Linked DNA regions of Homo sapiens: regions 1 and 2 are each linked to region 3. The links are contacts of gene promoters, found by promoter capture Hi-C in human tissues and cell types (Jung and others, 2019). All regions are on one chromosome and are shown on one strand. Each heading gives the region's core, a stretch centred on a gene start or on the middle of the fragment in contact. The rest is flanking DNA. Distances are from core to core; before and after follow the strand shown.

Evidence for each region. Contacts are between HindIII fragments. The study calls those that stand out against the background at their distance.
Region 1: a contact is called between a fragment that was not itself captured here and the fragment with the promoter of BRINP3 in region 3, in 1 of the 25 tissues and cell types used here (dorsolateral prefrontal cortex).
Region 2: a contact is called between a fragment that was not itself captured here and the fragment with the promoter of BRINP3 in region 3, in 1 of the 25 tissues and cell types used here (dorsolateral prefrontal cortex).

What each region holds. Positions count from the first base shown.
Region 1 is chr1:189,461,279-189,464,686 of GRCh38, reverse strand. All of the region lies in intron 3 of LOC105371657 (a long non-coding RNA gene), which reads right to left. Among named protein-coding and RNA genes, the nearest start is that of LINC01701, 310 kb to the left of the region's middle. The HindIII fragment of the contact is 3,303 bases long and covers 24-3,326 here.
Region 2 is chr1:192,291,228-192,294,559 of GRCh38, reverse strand. No RefSeq gene overlaps it. Among named protein-coding and RNA genes, the nearest start is that of RGS21, 24 kb to the left of the region's middle. The HindIII fragment of the contact is 3,430 bases long and covers 1-3,273 here.
Region 3 is chr1:190,475,822-190,479,436 of GRCh38, reverse strand. BRINP3 (BMP/retinoic acid inducible neural specific 3) reads left to right here and starts at 1,573. Exons shown (of 8, transcript NM_199051.3): 1 at 1,573-1,989. BRINP3-DT (BRINP3 divergent transcript) reads right to left here and starts at 1,177. Exons shown (of 3, transcript NR_110716.1): 1 at 945-1,177; 2 at 297-355. The HindIII fragment of the contact is 15,526 bases long and covers 1-3,615 here.

The sequences.
Region 1 (3,408 bases), core at 426-2,925, 1.0 Mb after region 3:
TTGGAAGACATTACGTTAAGTCAAAAATCCAGCCACAGGAAGACAAATACCACATAAACTCTGTCATATGTGGAATCTAAAAGAGTTTAACTTATATAAGTAGACAGTAGAAGGGTAATTACCAGAGGTTGGAGTGGTTGGAAATGAGATTTGAAAGATGTTCATCAAAGGATAGAAAACTACAGTTAGATAGGAGGAATAAAATTTTAAGAGATCTATGGTACAACATGGTGACTTTAGTTACCAATATATTGTGTTCTTGAAAAATGCTGACAGTGGATGTAAAATGTTCACAAATAAAATATTAACTCTGTGAGATGATGTTAGAAATTAATGTAAGTATTTCTTTTTGTCTCACGATAGGTATGTGAACAAGGGTGATGGTTGCTTTGATGGTTGAAATGCAGATGAAGGCCGTTGCCTTCTTTCAATGTTCTTCAAGAGCTTTTGAAGGGAAAGGACCAACGTAGCATAGAAAAAAAATGTTAAATGTAGTGTCAAAAACTTCCATCATAAACTTAATATATACACTAATTCGAAAAGGTTATCTGTATCTCTGAGGATTAGTTACCTCATCATAACAATATGTGGTATATAGTTGGATTATTAGGAAGGCTGAATTAAAATGTAAGTGACGTGTCAGAAATGTAAGTTATTTTAGTAGTAATACCATATTTACTTAATTTAATATTTTAATAGGCATATATCAGTGATTTTGCTTTAATATTTTAAGAAAATTATTTTATTTTATTTGAAATACTAATAAAACTTATTTAATCTACAAGTTCTTGTTTTCCAAAAATATCACTGCAATATGAATTCAGATGGTTGACATGTAAAAATTGCAACCCTCTCTAGTTGAATAAATTTCCTATAAATGTTCATCTCCTTTAATTGATGTTCATTCATGCAAGAAAATATATAACACCAATCAAATTGCAGATGTAGTAATGAAAAAGCAAAACTGTGCTGTGAGTTTTGAAGACCTCTTTAATTTGACAGCAGTTACCTGACTAGAAAGAAAATAGACAGAATTATTTAGTACTGCAGAATTTGCTGCTGGGTTAAAATTGACATTGAAGGAGCCTACCCTTTGACAATGCCCCCATTGGCAACAGTGCCACCATGTCACCGTAAATAATCCTGCTGGGATCAATTGCCATGCTCCCTAGGGAAATTGTTGTCCATAATATCACAAAAAAGTAATGAGAGCAAAAGATTTTCTGCAAGAACATGAGGCTTTTCTAAGCATTAAACTAACAAAGCTTGAACTAAGTCAGCCGAGAAGTACACTGTGGGAAACTGCACAGAAACTGCACATCAGCAAAACGTCTTGGCAGAAAATGGACATGTAGAAGTGCAGTGACTGTCTTATTTATTCACCACTCTTGGGAACACTAATGTGAAAGTGACTAATATGGTATAATAGTTCCCAGAACCAATTAATTAATCATAGCATGCCATTAATAGATACATTCCTTGGGGGAAATATTTCATGCGCAGGGAAATTAAAGCATTTTATTATGATAAAGTTTCCCTAGTCAAAAATGCTTTAAATTTACATTCTCACACAGTTAACTAAGTGGGTATGAATTTATTTTTCTATTGTCTACAGGTGATTTCTGGAGAGAAATATCTTAAGTGTTCATGTGGAGTGGAATTAGAGCATGGCTCTTTTTGTCATCTCCTACTCTGCATTCACTGAAAATATTTTGTGCATTGATCCTACTTCCTAGATGAATATAATGGAGCTCAGAAAGCTTAAGTGATTTGCAAGTTGTGGCAGGGCTGGTAAGTGGCAGTGTTGTTTTTGTACTGCAAGTTTGGAATTGAAATCTCTCTCAACCATGCAGCTTTCTTTGTATGGCAGAATTATAACCACATCTAAAAAATCAAATTCTGAAACAATATGAGCTACATTTTACCATATCAAGAACAGTTAATAAGGATATATTTGAATGGCTTTGATCCATTTGATCCGATTAATTTTTATGGCCACATTGTGAATTATAGGCATTTTAAATTTAATTCTGTTTTTTAACTGAAATTTGGCAAACATATTTAAAACACTTGTGTTCTCACCACATAAATGACAAGTATGTGAGGTAATGCATATTTCTATTAGCTAGATTCAGTCATTCCACATGTATATATAATTTAAGACATATAATGTATAGAATTTTATCTGTCAGTTAAAATAATAAATCATAAGTCAGAAAAATATTCACTGATATTGGACAGAATGTTTAGGCATATCAATTACTGAGTTTATATTAAAAGACAAATAGCTGTCTAGCTTAAAAATAGTTATAGTATTTTTATAGCCATCTCTGGTTATCTCTGCAATTAACCCTGGATCAAATTTCCATTCTTTTCTTTAATACTCAGACTACTTCAAAGAAAATCAGATATGAAATTTTGTTGAAGGCTCTATGAGGTAAACTCGGTCATGTGTGGAGAGACTTCATAGCACACCACTATGCATGATTTATACTCAAGTACAACTCATATATCTTCTTCCCACAAAACATCTTCCTCCATTCCCTTGATCCCTTGTTTTTTCCAGGCTTTTCTTGGACTCCCATGGGAAGAATATACTATAATATTCAAGAGGGCTTAGGAGGACAACAGACTAGTGTTGGCCCTGAAACCATCATCTACTCTGGTTAAAAAGTTTAACCTAGATTTATACTGACAATAAAACCTACCACATAAGGTTAAAATGGGTATTAATAAGAAGACTTTAATGTGTTTAGCACAACATACAACTAACTATACTTATTGTGATAATGCTGACAAAAAGTGTTTGAGGCAGAGAAGGAAAATCGTTAGTCCATTTTACATGATCTCCATCCTTCTTTCCCCAGAGTATATAACATACAATACAACTAAAAATGAATTTAAGACATTTAAGCTTTTTAGGCTTATCTTCTGATAATATTACCATTCATAAGTTCTTCTAAAGATGGCTTTTTAAAATTATACTTTAAGTTCTGGGATACATGTGGAGAATGTGCAGGTTTGTTACATATATACACGTGCCATGGTGGTTTGCTGCACCCATCAACCTGTCGTCTACATTAGGTATTTCTGCAAATGCTATCCCTCCCCTAGACCCACACCCCCTGACAGGCCCTAGTGTGTGATGTTCCCCTCTCTGTGTCCATGTGTTCTCATTCTTCAACTCCCACTTATGAGGGAAAACATGCGGTGTTTGATTTTCTGTTCATGTGTTAGTTTGCTGAGAATGATGGTTTCCAGTTTCATCCATGTCCCTGCAAAGAACAGGAACTCATCCTTTTTTATGGCAGCATAGTATTCCATGGTGTATGTGTACCACATTTTCTTTATCCAGTCTATCATTGATGGGCATTTGGGTTGGTTCCAAGTCTTTGCTATTGTGAACAT
Region 2 (3,332 bases), core at 309-2,808, 1.8 Mb before region 3:
GTGTCTTTTCTAGCCCACCCTTTCACTGAGTGAGGAGACTTCAATTGTCTCATATTTATTTAGAGATCTAATTTCTATTTCACACCAAAATCTTTGTCTCCTGTTATTGAACTGACCTTAAAATAATTAGCCTCCTGTGGCTGGGTGCAGTGGCTCACGCCTGTAACCCCAGCATTTTGGGAGGCTGAGGCAGGCAGATCACTTGAAGTCAGGAGTTCGAGACCAGCCTGTCCAACATGAAGAAACTCCGTCTCCACTAAAAATACAAAATTATCCGGGCGTGGTGGTGGTGCATGCCTGTAATCCCAGGTACTCGGGAGGCTGAGGCAGGAGAATCACTTGAACTCGGGAGGCAGAGGTTGTAGTGAGCGGACATCACGCCATTGCACTTCAGCCTGGGCAACAAGAGTGAAAATCCATCCCTCCCCCTGCCAAAAAAAAAAAAAAAAAAAAAAAATTAGCCGCCCAGTTTCCAAGATTGGCAAAGCTTCATGTACCTTGGAGTTCTCACCTGCCCATCTTTTTTTCCAAGCTCAGTTATTCATTGAAAAGAATATTTGTTATATTTGGCCAGAAGCTATGTGTCTTCAAAAAAGCAATTTTGTCATTTTTGTCTTCAGAATATATTGTCTGGCATATTTCCAAGATTGAAAACCACAAACTTATACAAGAGAATTAAAGGTGAATAACTCTTCTTCCAGCAATTCAATATATTCTAGATTGACGCCACTTTTATATGTAAAAAATGTTTAGTGCATGTTACTTAAAAGTGTTTTGTAAAAAAACTTGAATTTGTGATGCTCTAGTTCAGCCCTGTCCAGTAGAATTTTCTACAATGATAAAAATGCTCTATATATCTATGCCGTTCAATATGGTAACCATTTGCCATATGTGACTATTGAGTATTTGAAATGTGGCTAGCATGCCTCAATTTTTAAAGCTCAATTAATTTCAATTTCAATAGTTACATGTGGCTGCTGCTACTGTATTGGACAGGGCAGTGGGTGAGAGAAATGGTTTTAATTTTACCGTATGTAGCAGAGTAAGAAAAAAAAAGCAGGCCGGGCGCGGTGGCTCAAGCCTGTAATCCCAGCACTTTGGGAGGCCGAGGCGGGTGGATCACGAGGTCAGGAGATCGAGACCATCCTGGCTAACAAGGTGAAACCCCATCTCTACTACAAATCCAAAAAAATTAGCCGGGCGTGGTGGCGGGCGTCTGTAGTCCCAGCTACTCAGGAGGCTGAGGCAGGAGAATGGCGTGAACCCGGCCGGCGGAGCTTGCAGTGAGACGAGATCGCGCCACTGCACGCCAGCCTGGGCTACAGAGCGAGACTCCGTCTCAAAAAAAAAAAAAAAAAAAAAAGGAAAAAAACCGGAATGAAAACACTAGAACTATGGAGCTGTAGTGGGGTGAGAAGATTTAAATAAACTGGCACAATTGGTAAAATGAAAAATTGACAACAGAGCTGCTTCCAGTGGTTTTCAAAGGTTAATGTGGTCTGAAACCTAAGTGTCCATCAACAGATGAATGGATAAAGAAAATGTGGCACTAATGCACAATGGAGTACTCTTCAGCCATAAAAAAGAGATTCTTTCATTTGCAACAACATGGACAGAACTGGGGGTCATTATGTTAAGTGAAATCAGCCAGGTTCAGAAAGACAAACGTTACATGTTCCGGCTTACTTGTGGGGTCTAAAAATCAAGACAAATGAATTCATGGAGATAGAGAATAGAAGAATGACTACCAGGGGCTGGGAAGGGTGGTGGCAGAGGCAGGGAAGGTGGGGATGGTTAATTGGTACAAAAAATAGACATAAAGAATAAAACCTAGTATTTGATAGCAGAACAAGGGGACTACAGTCAATAATAATTTATTTGTACATTTTAAGATAACTGAAAGGATAATTGGATTGTTGTAACACAAAGGATATGTGCTTGAGGGGATGGATGCCCAATTTTCTATGATAATATTGTGCATTGCATGGCTGTACCCCAATATATCATATACCCCATGAATATATCCACCCACTATGTACCCACAAAAATTAAAAAGAGTTTTAAAATGTTAACATGGTCAGAATCACCTGGAGGACTTACAAGTCCTCACACCCAGAGTTTCTGATTCAGTAGGTTTGGGCGGGGTCCAAGAGTCTGTGTGTTCAAAAAGTTCTTAGGTGATGCTGATATTGCTGGTCTGAACAAAGCACTTTGGAAACTATCAGTCTGATTTTGTCATACAGTTGCTAGTTCAGACATGGAAGTCACTCAGAGAGCTATGGCCTGAGCCCCACCATCCTATTTCTCATGGAAAACTCTGGCTTCTAAGCAAGGTGATTGTGTGATTTCTCCAGGAAGTGATACAAAAATCAGTTGGAAATGCAGATCTTTTCATTATTTTAAACAAAGGTGACCATGTAAACATTTTTACCTACATATTTATATACTTATAATATAATTAATGTATAAAATCAGTAAACTATTATCTAACAAATTTTGGTATTTTTTTCATGGCAGTGAAAATATGTTCAATGTAGCAAATACTGTGGTTAGCTATCTACCCAACCCATGTTTCTTTCTAACAGAGCCTTGATTTTCTAAAAAAAAAAAAAAAAACAAAAAAATTCTACTTCTTATATGACAAAGTTAACTCATCTGTAGTTTCAAGATTAGATCTTAAATTTTGAAAATTGCTTAAGACTTTAAATGAATTATGGTAATCTCATTCTCCTTACCAGTGGACATCTATCCCAAGCAGTGAGGAAAAGTTTATTTCATTCTAAGACAGAAGCACAAGAGTAAATGCTATTTTTCTGTTTCTGGATTTGCTGCGTTTGGTTGTGAAACAAATGTAACTACTACATTCCATCATCTTCCTACAAGAAGTTCTTAAACTATCCCCAAGCAGAGCACAGACACTAGGGAATATCAGAGAAAGAGAAACGAGAGCATTGAGGCCTGGGGCTCATCCCACCCCTTGACTTATTTTTACATGAAATAAAACTCCAACATTTCTTATAGTTTAAGTCAGTTTTGGTTGATGTGTTCTGCCATTTAAGGCAGAAAACTGCCTAACAGCTACCTTCAGGGTGTGAGGATCAGGATTTTTCAAATCACAAAGATAATGTAGAAATTGCAGAATTATTTTTTTGTTTTAGGTGACTGTGCTGATATGCTACATCTAATTATTTCCCACTACGGCTTGTCTTTAGAGCAAAATGGCAACAGACATGACCTACTTCCTTTTTCTCCCCCTAATCAGATCAAATAACAAAGTAGAATAAATGGCAATAGAAACAATAACATTGCCATAACCTCTGGTTATATTTTTC
Region 3 (3,615 bases), core at 324-2,823:
AGGGAAATACTTAAATACCACTTTTGGAAACAAACAGGGATTTAACTGCTTTATCTGTCTTTGAGTTTTTAATGCAGGATATAAAGGACCTTAAAGCGTTCATATTGTCTCCTTAAAACCCTCTACTTCAATTTCACCCTTACAAGCTACTACTCTCCTAGGGAAGAGGAAAAAAAAATTTCCACTGACCCAGCTCGTGATTTACATACAGAGAGCAAATAAATGAATGGAGTGGGGGATGGGGCAGTGAGAAGCAATCTGTTTCTTTTTCAACCGCAGAAAATAAGATTACTTACCAAGAACATTTTTATCCAGGGCAAATGTTTATTCCCTCTATCATTCAGCGCCTCAGTCTCTGCAAGAAATCAATTTCCACTCTACCTTTCCCTCCTATTTCTAAAAAAGAGAGTGAGGCGGATAATTCTTAAGCTTCGGGGTCCGGAGGAAGATAGAGCTAGAGCGGAGGGCAAAAGACTCCCACAGCGCTCTTTATACAGATCCCAGCTCTGAGAGCGAACCCATGGGGAGGGGGCGGGGGATCATCTCTAAGGAGAGTACTCCGAGTAGGGAGGGGGATTCATTCTGCAGCCAAAATATAAATCATCTACAAACAGATTACTAGCCTCTCAGTCACACAGGCAGTTCCCTTGGGAAACCGGTTTCAAAGAGGAAGAAGTTCCTGGAGAGAGAGAGAGAGAGAGAGAGAGGGAGGGAGAGAGAGAGAGAGAGAGAGACTGGGGTTTGGACTTGCAGAGGGAATGGGGCCAAGGAGAGGAATAGGGAGAAGGAATAAAGCTAATCTTACCGATCGATCAGGCGATCGTTTGTTCAGTATTGGGACACGAAAATGGCAAGATAATGCATTCGGCAGCAAAGCCATTTCTGGCACACTCTCTCTCAGTTACTGCAGGAATCAGAGGGGAAGCGGGCGCCTCGAAACCTACCACTTGCTCCCCAGGGACCGTCCTCAGAACCTCCAAAGCTCTAGCTTCTAATGCAAGGCGTTCGGAGCTGAGGGTTCAGGTGGAAGTCAATTGTCTTGAGTCACAGGCAGCAGGAACGCCAAAGAAGTGGGACCTGGGAGGGCTGCTGCCGCCGCTGCTGCATCTAACCACGGTTCCCCGTCCCCTTGCCTAAGCCTCACCGGCACAGCGCCCCCGAAAGCGCCTAGCGACTCGGCCTCCTCCGCATCTTCAGCCCTTCGATCACCGCCCGCACCCCCCACCCCCCACCGCCTCGTGCAAATCGCTGATGATTTGGTCATCGTAATGTGACCGGTCGTAGTGGTTTATTTGGGGAGTGGGGGAATTGGTTGTGTTGGGCTTCCTTACTACGCCTCCCTCAGTTGCTGCAAGTGAAAATGTTCAAGGGAAATACTAGTGAAATGCACTGATGGAATACTATTAATCCTAATGATAATGGTCCCAACGCAGGTAACTCTTAAAGAACTGAGAGTGGGAAGATCAGAGCAGGATTTCCGAAGTGGTGCCCTCTTGAATTCTCATTGGATCCTCCCCAGCAGCCTAAATCATTCTTGCTGCTATATCTATCAGGATGACTACAGCCTTGCTCACTAGTTCTCTCTTTATCTCGTTGTCTTCAACACATCCTTTTACTTCTCTTTGCAGATTTATCTGTATTCCACCTCCTGTTCTCTGGGGTTACACAGCTTCTGCCTTTCCCCACTGTATGGGGATGTGCAGCCTGTAAATTTTCACTTTGCTTAAGGATCACCACGAATCACCCCCCACCATTCCCCACCCCCCCATATAAAGCATTTTCACATTCTGCTTTCTTGCCTTGGGGGTTCGTGGCTCTCTGTGTAACTGGTTTTTACTTGGTTACATGCCACCAGGAACTGCTGATTATTTTAAAGTCCTACTACCCTGCAGCTCACTACTTTACCTTGATTTGGAAGATCATGGAATATCTATTTGAATCCTGGATGTATTTTTCTCACAGTCTTCTTGCTTCCTGAAATTTCCTCTGGTAAGTTATTCTCTTTATCTGTTACTAGAAACTTAACTATTGCTATTTTTAATAAGCTCTGTTTTGTTGAAGTATTTCATTTTTCACATTTTTGTTACTTTCAGAACTGAAAGATCCATATGGCCATATTTATTAATTAGTATGTTAGTGGCAACTGCACTGCTAAGACATAACCCATGTAATGTATTACCCCAATATCCCATGTATTACCCCAATATCTTTTACCTTCTTTATTTTTAAAATATTTGTCCTCATTTATATTATGGGTTACACGGACATTAATCGCCCCCACCCCCATTAACCCTTCTTGGCACACATTCCTGTGCCATTTGAAATGTCACATTTTATAGGTTTATCTAAGAGAGAGCTTAAAAGAGACCTTCTGACAATTGCAAGGTCTGGAAAGTTCGCTAGTCGGATATTCAGAAGGTTGTTCAGGTCAGCATTTGTTCATGATAAGCAATTACATGACTGAAGGAAGACTTTGTTGCAAAGTGTATTTTTATGAATTTAGCAAGACCTTAAGCACTAAAATGCCACTGAATGGTAGGAAGAGGACTGTGAGTTTTGAGGGCACCATTTTTTTTTCTTAAAATATTTCAAATCACACATAAGCACGTTATTTTAGGCATTGTATTTTAATTCAGGCATAGTATTTGTCAGTACATTTCTGATTTTGTGAATTAGCTGGTGAACAGTTAATTGGACACAGAGTACTCATTTCAGAGAGGAGCAATCAGAAGAAACCCCTGATTATCTTGGTTCTGATAAATTGAAATTCAAGAATAGACTTTACATGAAAAATTTAATTGCCTCACTCTTCATACTTGTCTGCCCCCAACCCTTGTGTTTAATAGGCATGTTAATATGGTCAGTGCCTTTTGCTTTTATGAACATTTCTATGGACTTAACTGACAAGATTATCACCTCCTCTTCCGTATAGTTGTGTTGAGAAACATTTTAATCTTTACTTTTACTTCACAATTGACACATAATGAGGAAAGCACGATATTCATTAAATGCCAAACCTGCATGTATCGGTAATTTTTAACACCCACTGAGGGTTTTCTCTGAACATCCGCCCCCCGCCCTCAAATTAAGGACAAGTTCCTGGTCTCTACAACATTTCCTTTTCTTGGGATACATGGAGGTAAGAACCTATTGTTCACGCTTTTCTTTTCCTTTTTTTTTTTTTTAATTTCTGGGAAATAACTATTCTTGTCGTCATTGATGGCTGACGCGACAACCCAAGCAATGTTTTTTTAAATTCAAAAGCCCTTTTAGCTCCCAGACATAAAAGTACTCCAGCTGCAGCGTCGCCCCATCCCCCCGTCTCGGGATTCAAGGGCTTTTCCCCCTTGACTCCCACCGAGAGGGAACGGGGGTTGAGACTGTGGTCCGCACCACTTGGCGCCCCTCACCCGTCACTAGGTCACTAGTTTCTACCTGGTCTCTTTCCCAGTCCGGTCGTCCTGCCTGACAAGCCAGTGCCATCAGAGTCCGTGACTTCATTTGAAGAAAGGAGGGCTTCATATAATTCAATTCAAACATTCTCTTTGGAGGACTGCTGTTGTTGCGCAAGGGTGGAGGGAGGAAAAAAAAAAGAAAAAGAAAAAAAAAACTTTC